Regions from separate parts of the Homo sapiens genome. Here region 2 is linked to region 1. Evidence: promoter capture Hi-C in 16 types of primary human blood cells and fetal thymus (Javierre and others, 2016). All regions are on one chromosome and are shown on one strand. Each heading gives the region's core, a stretch centred on a gene start or on the middle of the fragment in contact. The rest is flanking DNA. Distances are from core to core; before and after follow the strand shown. Region 1 holds the start of FILIP1L (filamin A interacting protein 1 like). Region 2 overlaps CMSS1 (cms1 ribosomal small subunit homolog).

Region 1 (6,299 bases), core at 1,637-4,136:
TGATTGACCATCAGATTAAACAGAAAATCTTGAACTACTGTCAGATTTGAACCCTAGACTTCTAAGAGGCTATAATACAAATTTTCTTCTGTCTTAGACTTCCTGTCTGACCCAATTCTGAAGAACCAGATGGTATTAGTATGTAAAGTTTTTGTCTAACATCTATAGCTTGCACCAAAATGTCAACATCCCTCAAAGAAGGCTCAAGTATTTGCACTAAAATGTGTTTTCTAATTCAATTATTTGATGCTGAGATGGTATCTAAAATTGTCTCCATATCTATGTTGAACAACATGCACAATACACAGATTCAAATCACTAGTAATCAGACTCTCTGTGCAGATTCCTACACTCAGGGCATCTGGAGACCATGTTTGCCTCATTCACTGTTATAATCCCAATAACCAGCACGGGGCCTGGCACAGAGTAGGCATTCTAAAATAGTTGATGAATGAATGAACAAATGAGCAAACAAACTAAGCTATTACTATAAAAGTGTTCCCCTAATATAACTAAACAAACTTACTGTGTATTGCTGGTAGGCACTAGTTCTACTCTAAGGAAAATAAAAGCTACTAGCACTTTTTCTTTAAATGTTTTTTAATGTAACATATTAGAAAGGTGAAGCGGGTATTACATTGGTAATGAAAATTTTGCTTTAGGTTAGAACATAGAATAATATGGACTGTAATCAGAAGAAAAGAAGATAGAGCCCATTACATTTAGGTTTTTTGCATCCTTGGACCTGCCTGACTCTCGGCAAGTTGCAATGGCAGTCTCCTACAATAGCACTCTATTAAAGGCACCATCATTTCAATGGCACAATAAAATATCTTCATTTCCAGTGCCAGCGCCACTACCTAAGACCAAGTCTTGACTAAATTTATTACTTAAATTTATTGCTAATTTATTGCTTAAATAAAGCTTAAGCAAAAAAGACAATTACACATGAACTTTAATAGAAGGTAAACTCTAAAAATAAATTGTCACTCTTTAAATAATGAATGCTTTTCTTTGCTGCAGAACTTTTACAGAGTATCTTTGTATTGGTTAGTATAAGAATCCAAACCCCACATTGCTTTGGGAAATTACTGAGAAAATTCTCATCAGAGTAGTAGACCTTAATTACCCAGGTGGAAAGAGCCCATGAATATTATTGCTGCCTTTAGAAGTTTTTATTAACAAACAGCTCTTACAGTATTTATGCTGATTTTTAATTAAGCATAATGAGAGTTTCATAATAGTGTCAACTGATAAATGTAGAGAAATGTTTACTTGGAATATTTGGCTTTGGGAGATAGCAGATTGATAAATCAGAAAATGTCATCACAGGAAAAACAAGTTTAACTGTAGCTAAAGGAACATTGCTGTAATTGCAATGCATTCTCTCTAGTATTAACTACACCATGTTCTCCTTTATGCATATCTAATACACACGTGGAATATGGTAGTGTAGTTAAACAGTGTATGTGTTGCACCTCTTCTATTCCTTCCTGAGATGTGAACAGATAATGAATAAAGAAAGATATGTAATCATTAATTGGTATGGAAAGAAAAAAGAATAACTGAATATGTCACAACCATTTTAACTGAACACATATCTCTCTTCAGTGGAGCGCCTATATACAAAACTGTGCAGCCACCCTAAACATTGAATAATCCTCCCATTGAGGAGTACAGTGAGCAGAATTTTCTGTGATATCATTTGGCAGCAGCCTAGCATCATTTCCCATTTATATCCAGATGTGATGTGCCCATGGATATCCAGTCATCTTCTGTGGGGTGTTACAGAACAAGTTCTTGATAGGTATCTCCCAAGACCTGCCAAAAACCTTATCTCAGAAACCTGCTTCTGTTCTCTGGCTCTCATTCATTAAATCTTAACATCAACAGAAGGTAAACAAACAAAAGAAAAAAGATACAATATAGTTGCCATTTGAAAATGTTAGTTTCTTCCATTAATCTTTCCATGAAAAGAGAATTCCTCCTCTGCAATTTAACCTATTCAGTATAATTCTCCATTTTCAACACATTGTGATGATTTTGACACTGTATATTGATCATTCACATCAGCTTACAAAATCAAGCTATTAAGAAGGAAAGCCATTTATCCAAACATACTTTTTCTTTAATTTTTGACTATCCATCTTACTCTTAACAGGATAACAATTTAAAGTTTCATTTTGGTTTTCTTTCATGTGTATCACTATAGTAAAACTTACCTACTGTCAGGATAGTTCCTCTATTTTGCAAGCAACTCTTAGTCATTTTAGCCTAAAAGTCATCATCTGTCATAAGCTCTTAATCATACTACGTTCCCTTGCATAATATTCACAAGATCCTACTTTTGGAGAGTGGTGTTGGCCGCTCCTAGCTGGTGAATAACACAGAAACATCCCAAAGCCTCTTCTCAGCAAGGATGGGGACACTTAGCTTACCGTGCAGGTACCGTGCAGGTGTTGATCACACCTGGTAATTCCTTCTTCTCATCCCCACCAAAATCCAACAGTGGAATCCAGGACCAACAACAACGTTTTCTTCTTCTCTTTTTGGACACCCTCTCAGTTTTTGTTTTGTAGGCTTGAAAGCCACCGAGAGTTTGCAACCAGGGGCCAGTGATAGCTCTGCAAAGGAGAGGCAGTGGGGAGCCCAACAACAAGTAGGCCCAAACACTAAATATTGCCCTCTTCCCTCTCCGGGCAGTGTCCTTCATGCTCTGAAGACAGGCAGCCTTACCAAAACTCTTACCCCACAGCTTGCCAGTCTCTGTGGAAGAAAGGTTCTAACTGGACTGGGCTGCAGGATGAGGTGACCCAAAAGCCAGGAACCATCTGCGCAGAGCAGACAAGTAGAGGCAGGCACAGGCTCCGTGAGCACGTCTGTGTGTGTGTGTGTGTGTCTGTGTATGTGTGTTTGCATGCCTGTGCCCAGCAGCTGCTCTCCAGATTAGAAGACACCACTCTTTGGCCAGCAACTCTGAAACACCCTCTTAGGTAATTTTAAATTCATGTGCACATCTTGGCTGAGAGTAGAAACTTCCCAAGCACAACCTGGGTCCCATTCTTTGCTGTGTTGCTACCCCAGATATATTGTGAACCACAGACAGCAGTGCTAGCACCTTAGGAACAGATGCCCAGATGGACATTAAATTGCACCTCATTTTGTACCCTGCAGCCATGAGCTGATGTAAGCCTTGTTTGTGATTTAAGTAACAAGGGCATGACCCCTTCTTTGACACCCATAACCCAAGGCACTGTAAACATTCGCTATTATTAACGCTGTGTTGGACTCAAACTTGAATGCCTGCCTGTTCCATTTAGTGTCACAGGAGACACGAGGGCAAAGTGCTGAGGAAACTCTAGAGCAACATCGGAATGCATGGTGGTATGTTTATTATTATTATTTGACATTTTGTTTTATATTATTCAAGTGTTAAGAAAACCTTCATACTTAGGATTGCTAAAATTTGAAGCATCTAATTTTCTTTAAGTAGGATCACTTGTTCAGATTGAGGGGTTGGATAGAAGGGAGGAGTTTGTTCATTTATTCAACAAATATATATTTCAGCATCCATTATGTATCAGATCACTTACCAGACATGCCTACCACCTGCCCAGTGCTCAAGTCATGCATTATCTAATTTAATCCTCACAGCAGCCCTTTAAATTAGTCCTACTCCTGGTGATCTAATGAGAAAACCAAAGATCAGAATAATTTAATAACTTCCTAGGATCTCACAGATGATAGATATAAGACTGAGGATTCAAAATTGAATCTGAGTTACTCCAAAGCCCATGCTCTTTATTTTTAATTTTTAACATCAAAATAATTTCAGACTTATAGAAAAAATACAGGAATAATAAAGAATTTCCATATGCTCTTCACTAAGGTTCTCCAATGTTTAACATTTTACCACTGGTTGTATTCTCCCTCTCTTTCTCTTTCTCTCTCTCTCTCTCTGTCTCTCTCTCTCTCTCTCTCTCTCTCTCTCTCTCTCTCTCTCTCTCTCTCTCTGTCTCTCTCTCTCATCCTCCTTTCCACCCGTGAGTTTATTTTGGTGTGTGTATATTTTTTTCTGAATTAATTTATATACTTTAGTGTGATTATCTTAAAAATGTAAGTATACTCTTCTACATAACCACAGTATAACAATTAAATTCAGTAAATCAACTTTACTTTCTAATCCATAGATCCCATTCAACTTTTCACCAAATGTCTCAATAATATCCTTTATAGAAAAAAAATGGTTTTTTAGTCCACGATTATGTGTTGCATTTAGTTGCCTTGTCTCTACGTTCCTTCAATCTTGAACAGTTCTGTAATCTTCCTTTTTTATATGTGACCTTCACATTTTTGAAGAGTACGTTTTGTAGAATGTTCCTTAGTTTAGATTTGTGTGATGTTTCCTCATTGTGAGATTGAAATTGTGTATTTTTATGGCAGGAATACTACAGAAACAATGCTGTATTCTTCTTAATCATATCAGGAGTCACATAAACGGAGTTAGTCTTGTAACCAAACCCACTTGCTTAAGGTGGTATCTGTTAGATTTACTGTAAAATTATGGTTTTTCCTTTTGCAGTTAATAAATATTTTGTGGGGAGATACTTGGAGACTAGGTAAACATATTGCTCTTAAATAAACTTTCTTAGAGTGAAGAAGAGCATTCCCTTCTCCTCACTTATTTTTGTGTTTATTTATATCAACATGAGCTCATAAATTGCTGTTTTATTGAATGAGTTATAAATCACTAATATCATTATTTATTTTAATGCTCAAATGATCTCAGATGTGGTCCTCATGTTTTTCTGAGTACTTTCTTACCTTCTGGCACAAGAAAATGTTCCATAAGCATCTTGTACTTTCTGTGCCCAACTCTGGAATTAGCCATATCTTCAAGAAGACCTCCATCCATTATGGAAAATGGTATTTAGAAACCAAGATCTGGGGATTGCGTGAGCTCATTGCTTCCAGGCCCTTTCAGGTAATAGGCTAGGAAACACAAACACACACGCGCGCCTATATCTGTTGCTCTGTCTATTTATATTAAAGACTATGAGATCACACTGATAGCTGCATTTCCAATCTAACACCATAGACATAATCTGGCTTTTAACCCTTTCCATATTTGTAACTCCTTTCCCCAACAGTGAGGATAAGGTGGTTTCTGTTATCCTCAGAATACTTATGTATTTGCTCATTGCCCCTGTGGGTAAGGGCCCCTTTGGCCCTTAGTCTTTTTGGCCCCATCATCCCTGATTTCTCAAGGAAAAGGAAAGGAAGTAGTCAAAATTTTTTAAATAAAAAAGAAGGAAATGATGAGAATAAGAGTTTCATGTTCTTTCTATACCATAAAGTATCTGTATCTTCATGGCAAGGTAGGTATTAGAAATCATCATGCAATCTCTGTGAAGGTGTGAAGATGTCATGGAAACAAAAGTTTATAAAGACTGAGGGAAGAGTTCAATTATTTATTCACATAAATAAATAATTGCCATGTGTCAGGCACACTGTGAAAGATAGACGTAGCCCTTGCCCTTGTGAACCTATAATCTAGTGGATTATTTTTATTATAGTTGCTATTTATTATGTCACACTTTGGCAACACTACATTAAGTACATTGAGCACTTTATTTATGTTATTTGATTTTAATTCAGACAGAAACCCTATGGGAGAAATAGTCTTTTTTTCCAACTTTACAAAAAACGGAACTGAGGTTTTGAAAGATTAAGTAATCTTTCCAACATCACTGAGATAATTAGTAAGAGACCGGGATCTGCATTTAGTTTAGTCTGACTTCCGAGGCCTAACTCTAAACACTAGGGCTATATGAGAAAAAAATAAGGTGGAATTATTCATCATGGTGGCATCCAGAAGGAATCATGATTTTTAAAATCTTGAATGCAAACTCTCCTATAGAACTGTGCTATCCAGTACATTAACTACTAACCACGTATGGTTATTAAGAGCATAAAGTGTGGCTAATTCAAATGGAGATATGCTGTAATTATGAAATACACAGCAGATCTCAAAGACATTAGAAAACAACTAATGTAAAATATCTCAGTAATAATGTGTATATTGATTACAGGTTGAAAGATAATACTTTGGATAAATTGGGTAAAACAGATACACTTTTTTTTTTTACCATCACAATAGCCAAAAGGTGGAAACAACCCAAATGTCCATCAATGGATAGATAAACTGCAGTATATATATATATATATATATATATATACATATATATATATATATATATATATACACATACAATGGAGTATTACTCAGGCTTAAAGAC
Region 2 (6,238 bases), core at 3,689-6,188, 290 kb before region 1:
GCTTTTTCCCTGGCACATAGAATGAAATTCAGATTACTTACCATGGCTGGTGGCCACCAGGTCTTCTACTATTTACTCCCCTATAGTTTATGCTGCCCCACCCACACCAGCCTTCATTCTGTTCCTCAGTAGGCCACACTCATTCTGTCTTACTTAGCCGTTTGTGTTAGCTGTTCTTTTCCTTTCTGTCCTGTCCTTCTGATTGGCTGGCTTTCTTTCTTTCTTTTTTTTTTTTTTTGAGCTGGAGTCTCGCCCTGTCACCCAGGCTAGAGTGCAGTGGTGCGATCTCAGCTCACTGCATCCTCCACCTCCTGAGTTCAAATGATTCTCCTGTCTCAGCCTTCTGAGTAGCTGGGATTACAGGCGCCTGCCACCACACCCAGCTAACTTTTGTATATTTAGCAGAGACGGGATTTCACCATGTTGACCAGGCTGATCTCGAACTCCTGAGCTCTTGATCCGCCCGCCTCAGCCTCCCAAAACACTGGGATTACAGGCATGAGCCACCAGGCCCGGCCAGCTGGCTCTGTCTTAACATTAAGTACTCAGTTCAAACGTCACCTACTCAGAGTGGCGCTTCCTGATCAGGCAGTCTAGAGTAACTATCTAGGTGCTCTATTACATTATCACAATATCTATTAAATTATTATGTTATTATAATTCTCAGCAGAGCACTTAGCACCAACTATTATTTTTCCTTGTTAAATTAATTACTTTTTCCCAGCAGTAGACTGTAAGAGCTCCATGTGAGCAGGTATTTTGTTTGTCTTGTTTGCTTTAGTTTCAGGGCCTAGAGTAGTATCTGGATACAGCGAAGGCACTCATTAAGTATTTGTTAGTTAACCAATTAATTATTAATATTTCGTAGTCACACCTTGAAGACCTCAACCTAGGAGATCTTTATCAAAAGAACCTTGATCTGCTGGCAGATTTGTCAAACTCCTGTCCAGGCTTTTGACAGATTTGGCAAATGCCGCTTTTCTCTTTTCAAAATTACATTAGTAGTCCTTGTAAAACTGTGTCTAACATTTTATTGTAACCATATTTGGATTTAATTTTATAAATTACGTTTGGAAAGAGGACAAGAGACTCTTTGTAAATAAGCCTGTAATTTTTACTGGTGACAGCTTTTGTCACCTAGAATCAATGTGCTTATTCTTTTTGAGATTGCTGAAATGAGCTTTGTAAATATTTTTGTTGTAATATCATTTTATGGTATATTCTTCAAATTATATTGCTTTATCCATGGTGAATTCCTTCTGGAAATGGAGTAGGGGAGCACCTTGGATCTTTTCTTTAAACCCAAGTACCCAGGTTTTTTTGTTCTGTGTTTTTTCTATTTTCACACCAAAGTTAAACCTTTACAGTATTAGTTTTACATATAGACAGTCTTGCATTGTAGATGTTGTAAGGCATTGTCTCTACATATAAAATTCAGACTTGGAATATTTGTAGGAGATGTTAATAACACACAACAGAGGATCGACTTCTGGGCATGTTGTTTTCATAATCATTCGTCAAGCTCTCATGCTTAGCCTTGTTTTAGACACTGTACCAGAATTAGAGGGAAAAAACATAATCAGCTTACATTACAGGATTTACACATTGATGTGGTTCAGTCAAAATGCAAATAGTATTGACAGATATTCAGGGGCAAAACACAGGGGCAGGATGAATTTAAAAAGCAAGGGGAAGGAAAGAAGAAAGAGGAGGGAGAAAAATGACTATGTTATTAGTCATTGCTCTACACTTGAAGGCTGTAACAGATGGACACTTAGATAACCTTCATGGTCTGGTTTAATTTACTGCATATAATTTCCACAGTTCTTTCAGATGATTAAATGAGTGGTTCTTGACAACAATTACGAACATTTAAAGGTGGAAATTTATGCATATTTCCCTAAATTGCATGTCAGGTAGTTCCTGCTATAATTTTGCTAAATGTCCATGAATCTCTTGAAAAATACAACTCATAAATGTGGAAGGCCTATACATAACTTCCATTTCCTCCCTCAGATTCAATAATAATATATCATTTTGTGGCACAAATCTTTTTTTCTTTTTTTCTTTTTCTTTTTTTTTTTTTTTTTTTGAGACAGAGTTTTGCTCTTGTCCCCCAGGCTGGAGTGCAGTGGCGCAATCTTGGCACACTGCAACCTCCGCCTCCTGAGTTGAAGCGATTCTCCTGCCTCAGCCTCCTAAGTAGCTGGGACTACAGGTGCATGCCACCATGCCTGGCTAATTTTTTGTATTTTTAGTAGAGGGGGGTTTCACCACGTTAGGCAGGATGGTCTTGATCTCCTGTCCTCATGATCCGCCTGCCTCCGCCTCCCAAAGTGCTAGGATTTACAGGTGTGAGCCACGGAGCCCGGCCCAGCACAAGTCTTTTATCTGTTGTTAATCTGATGTTATTTAGTGGAACACTTCAGATGCATTCATAGAATTATACATTTTACTAAATATATCACAGCTTGAAATATAGTTTCCCCATTTTTATCAGCTTTCATAGAATTCTTAATTGATTTTTAAATGGCTAATATTGCTTATAAAAAGTAGTTGATCAAGCTCTTAAATTCCTATTTCTGAGTTCCTTGTTCTAGTTCACACTAGACCAGAGGTCAGCAAACTTTTTTCATATAAATCCAGATAATAAATATTTTAGGTTGTGTGGGTCCAGTCATCACCGTCATAACTGCTGTTGCAGTGTAAAAGCAGTCATAGAAAATAAATGTGTAAACGAATGAGTATGGCTGTGTTCCAATAAAATTTTATTTATGGACAACAATATTTGAATTTTATGTAATTTTCACGTCACAAAATAGTCTTATTTTGATTGTTTTTCAACTTTCACAGTGGGTTGAATTTGGCCTGTGAACCGCAGTTTGCAAACGCTGCCCCAAACTCAAAGTCACATCGTGAATTGTATGTCACGTGTCTTCAGGAGAAGAAATTTGAAACAAATCCAGAGAGAATTGTGTTTTACCTTAGTTACTCCGTTACTTAGTAGTTATCAGCTATGTATTAGACCAGTCACATATCTGTTAAAATCAGATATTTGATTCTAAAATATCTCAAGATTAGTTCAGAAACCTTGAAGGTAAATAAATGAAGGACCAGGAAAAGACTTCAGCTTAAAAGTATCAGGTTTTTAACATTTTTGTTACAAATTGGATTTGTTTTCACTCACTTGGATTTTTATCTGCTTACTTTGAAACAGTTCATCAGGTGAAATCACTCTAGAATTATTAGGTCAGCTTCTTTTATTTTCATTTTTCTTCAGAGGCCACACTTCTGCGGAAACAACATGCCCAGGAGGAAAGATGCTTTATATTTCAGTTGTGTTACATATAGGTCAGACATTACTGTTTTGAACTCCAAATAGTATTCTCACTTTATAGTTGTATTTGCATTTTTATTATATTATTAATACATATTGCTTGAAACAAGCATGGTTTTTGGTTGTCAATCCTTTTGTTAAAATATAACTTTATTTATTGTTATTATTTTGAGACAGAGTCTCACTCTGTCACCAAGGCTATAGTGCAGTGGCATGATCTTGGCCTACTGCACCCTCTGCCTCCCAGACTCAAGCGATTCTCGTGCCTCAGCCTCCTGAGTAGCTGGGATTACAGCCATGCACCACCAAGCCCAGCTAATTTTTGTGTTTTTAATAGAGATGGAATTTCGCCATGTTGACCAGACTGGCCTCAAACTCCTGGCCTCATGTGATCTGCCCGCCTTGGCCTCCCAAAGTGCTGGGATTACAGGTGTGAGTCACCGCACCCGGCAAATGTAACTTTACTTTGAAGACTTTTGTCTTAATGGGATTAGAACTGCATTACCATTTAAAGATGAGTTTCTGCTGGTTCCCATAGAAGTGTCAACATTTTTCTACGCAAATTTTTTCTTTTTTTAATTTGAGACGGAGTTTTGCTCTTACTGCCCAGGCTGGAGTGCAATGGCGCAATCTCGGCTCACTGCAACCTCCGCCTCCCAGGTTCAAGCAGATTCTTCTGCCTCAGCCTCCGGAGTAGCTGGGATTACAGGCATGCGCCACCATGCCCGGCTAATTTTGCATTTTTAGTAGAGACGAGGTTTCTCCACGTTGGTGAAGCTGGTCTCGAACTCCCAACCTCAGGTGATCCACCGCCTCGGACTCCCAAAGTGCTGGGATTACAGGCGTGAGCCACCGTGCCTGGCTTCTACCTAAATTTTTTAGTACTTTGTATACTATCTTGTCCCTCTTTTTGTGCTTCCTCTTAAACTTATGCTAGCTTGGATAAAAATGTACTTTAGGAAGTCTCCTGACATGGGAGAAAACAATTTTGAAAGCTTCAACATACAACGTATTTTGTGCTTCATTTCAGAGTAAAATTTTTCCCAAGGTATTTTGTTTTTCTGGGACTATTGTTAGTGCATGTTGTTTTTCCTGTTTTATGCTTCTTTTCAACCTGTTTGGTTTTCACTAAGGGATTCCAATGGGTTTTTTTTCTATTAGCATAATTACCAATGTTGAATGTCACCTGGGCATAACTACTTTTCCTAACCCTGTCATACCATTGCTATCTCTTAGCATGTTTTCTCAAGTGAGAAAATGTCTTGACTGAATGGCCTTCTCTTCTTCATTTACTCATTCTCTATTCACTCTAGATTTATCAAATACCTGCTCTATGTGAGGCACAATACTAAGCACTCTGTACATACGTGTATTTTTTTTTTTTTGATGTTAGAGCTTCATCACTGCACCCTTTTTTTTTTTTTTCCCCACAAACAAGGTCTTGCTCTGTCAGTCAGTCTGGAGTGCAGTGGTGTGATCATGCTCACTGCAGCCTCGGACTTCTGGGCTCAAACAGTCCTCTTGCCTCTTCCTCCTAATTAGCTAGGACTACAGGTGTGCACCACCACACCTGGCTTTTTTTTTTTTTTTTCTTTTCGGAGAGACAAGGTCTTGCCAAGTTGCCCAGACTGGTCTTGAGCTCCTGGCCTCAAGAAATCCTCTCACCTCAGCCTCCCAAAGTGCTGGGGTTACTGGCGTGAGCCACCATGCCCAGTCTTCACCTTCTTTTGTAGTCCATCCCCTTCTACTATTCTCTTCCTGCTTTCCTTTCACTTCGACTTTTCCATTTCAGGCTTTTAATTCACTTGACCTCCCCCTACTGCCCTCTGCCACTTGCCTGCTGGGACTGCTGCCCATCATCCCTCTCAATGCTGCCTATCATCCCTCTCAATGCTGCCCATCATCCCTCTCAATGCTGCCCATCATCCCTTTCAATGCTGCCCAGGCCTCTAGCTCCTTCTCCTCCTTGAAATTGCAGGGGCCTGGGGGTGTTTGTACAGTGGCATTAGTGCAATGAGGTGGACTTAGTTAGATAAGTATGGGGAATGGGAGTTCCTTTACTCTTGCTCTGCTGGCTCCAACCCAGGGCAGCTGGCTAAAGCAGTCCTTAACCATGAGGATTTCTTCCAGGGTCATGCTTCCAGTTTTTAGTGAAGGATCACAAAAAATGTTTAGTGTCGTTCCATTGATTTTTTTCCCCCCTCGATTGAAGCTTTTTGAAATGTTTTTTGAACTGCCTTTTGTGTCAAACATGCCTTGTCTTAAAATGTCCTGTATTACTCTGTCCACACTGAATTACAGGCACACCTTTCTCTCAATTCAATGAGAGAGTTTTCAGTGTGATGTAAAGAATTGCTTTAGCTTTCTGCCAGGGGACTGTGTCTACCCTTATAGATGACTGTTTGAATTCAACATTTTGTATTAATAGTTGGGCATATTCATAGGTTATCAGAACTGGAAGGGACCTGAGGAATTATTTCACTTTCCTGTTTTACATGTGGAAACTCAAGGCTTAGATTGATGAATGCAAAGCTCGTTGTCACATGAATGAAAATCTAGGATTGGAATTTGAGTCTCCTAACCCCAAGCTTTTGTTGAATCAACTGATTTTCGATAGTGTTTATTCAGAGAAGAGATATGAATAAACAATGTCCTGTGAGATGATAAATTCTGTATTTTTTCAAGCACCTGGAATATTGATTCATGTCTCCCTAAAATATCTCAATGTTACTGAGACTAAGTGCCAGTGGTCAGGTATGCTTACTACACCAGTGATTGTCAGGTATTCTGCACAAAGGATATATTCGGCTGTTATTCACTTTTGTTATGCTTTTCCTCCTTTAAGAATTATCACTTTGCTTTTTCCCTCCTGGTCATAAAGAAATCATAGTTTTAGACCTT

Evidence for each region. The method cuts DNA at HindIII sites, captures the fragments that hold promoters and counts their contacts. A CHiCAGO score of 5 or more calls a contact.
Region 2: a contact is called between a fragment that was not itself captured here and the fragment with the promoter of FILIP1L in region 1, in 3 of 17 cell types (erythroblasts, M0 macrophages and M2 macrophages). The highest score is 6.2, in erythroblasts.

The regions. Positions count from the first base shown.
Region 1 is chr3:100,111,615-100,117,913 of GRCh38, forward strand. It overlaps FILIP1L (filamin A interacting protein 1 like), which reads right to left and starts at 2,887. Exons shown (of 6, transcript NM_001387850.1): 1 at 2,439-2,887. The region is part of intron 1 of CMSS1 (cms1 ribosomal small subunit homolog); the gene reads left to right. The HindIII fragment of the contact is 6,115 bases long and covers 923-6,299 here.
Region 2 is chr3:99,823,703-99,829,940 of GRCh38, forward strand. All of the region lies in intron 1 of CMSS1 (cms1 ribosomal small subunit homolog), which reads left to right. It overlaps FILIP1L (filamin A interacting protein 1 like), which reads right to left. Exons shown (of 6, transcript NM_001387850.1): 6 at 5,109-6,238. The region is part of intron 1 of LOC105374010 (a long non-coding RNA gene); the gene reads left to right. HP09053 (a long non-coding RNA gene) reads right to left here and starts at 163. Exons shown (of 3, transcript NR_110821.1): 1 at 42-163. The HindIII fragment of the contact is 1,217 bases long and covers 4,331-5,547 here.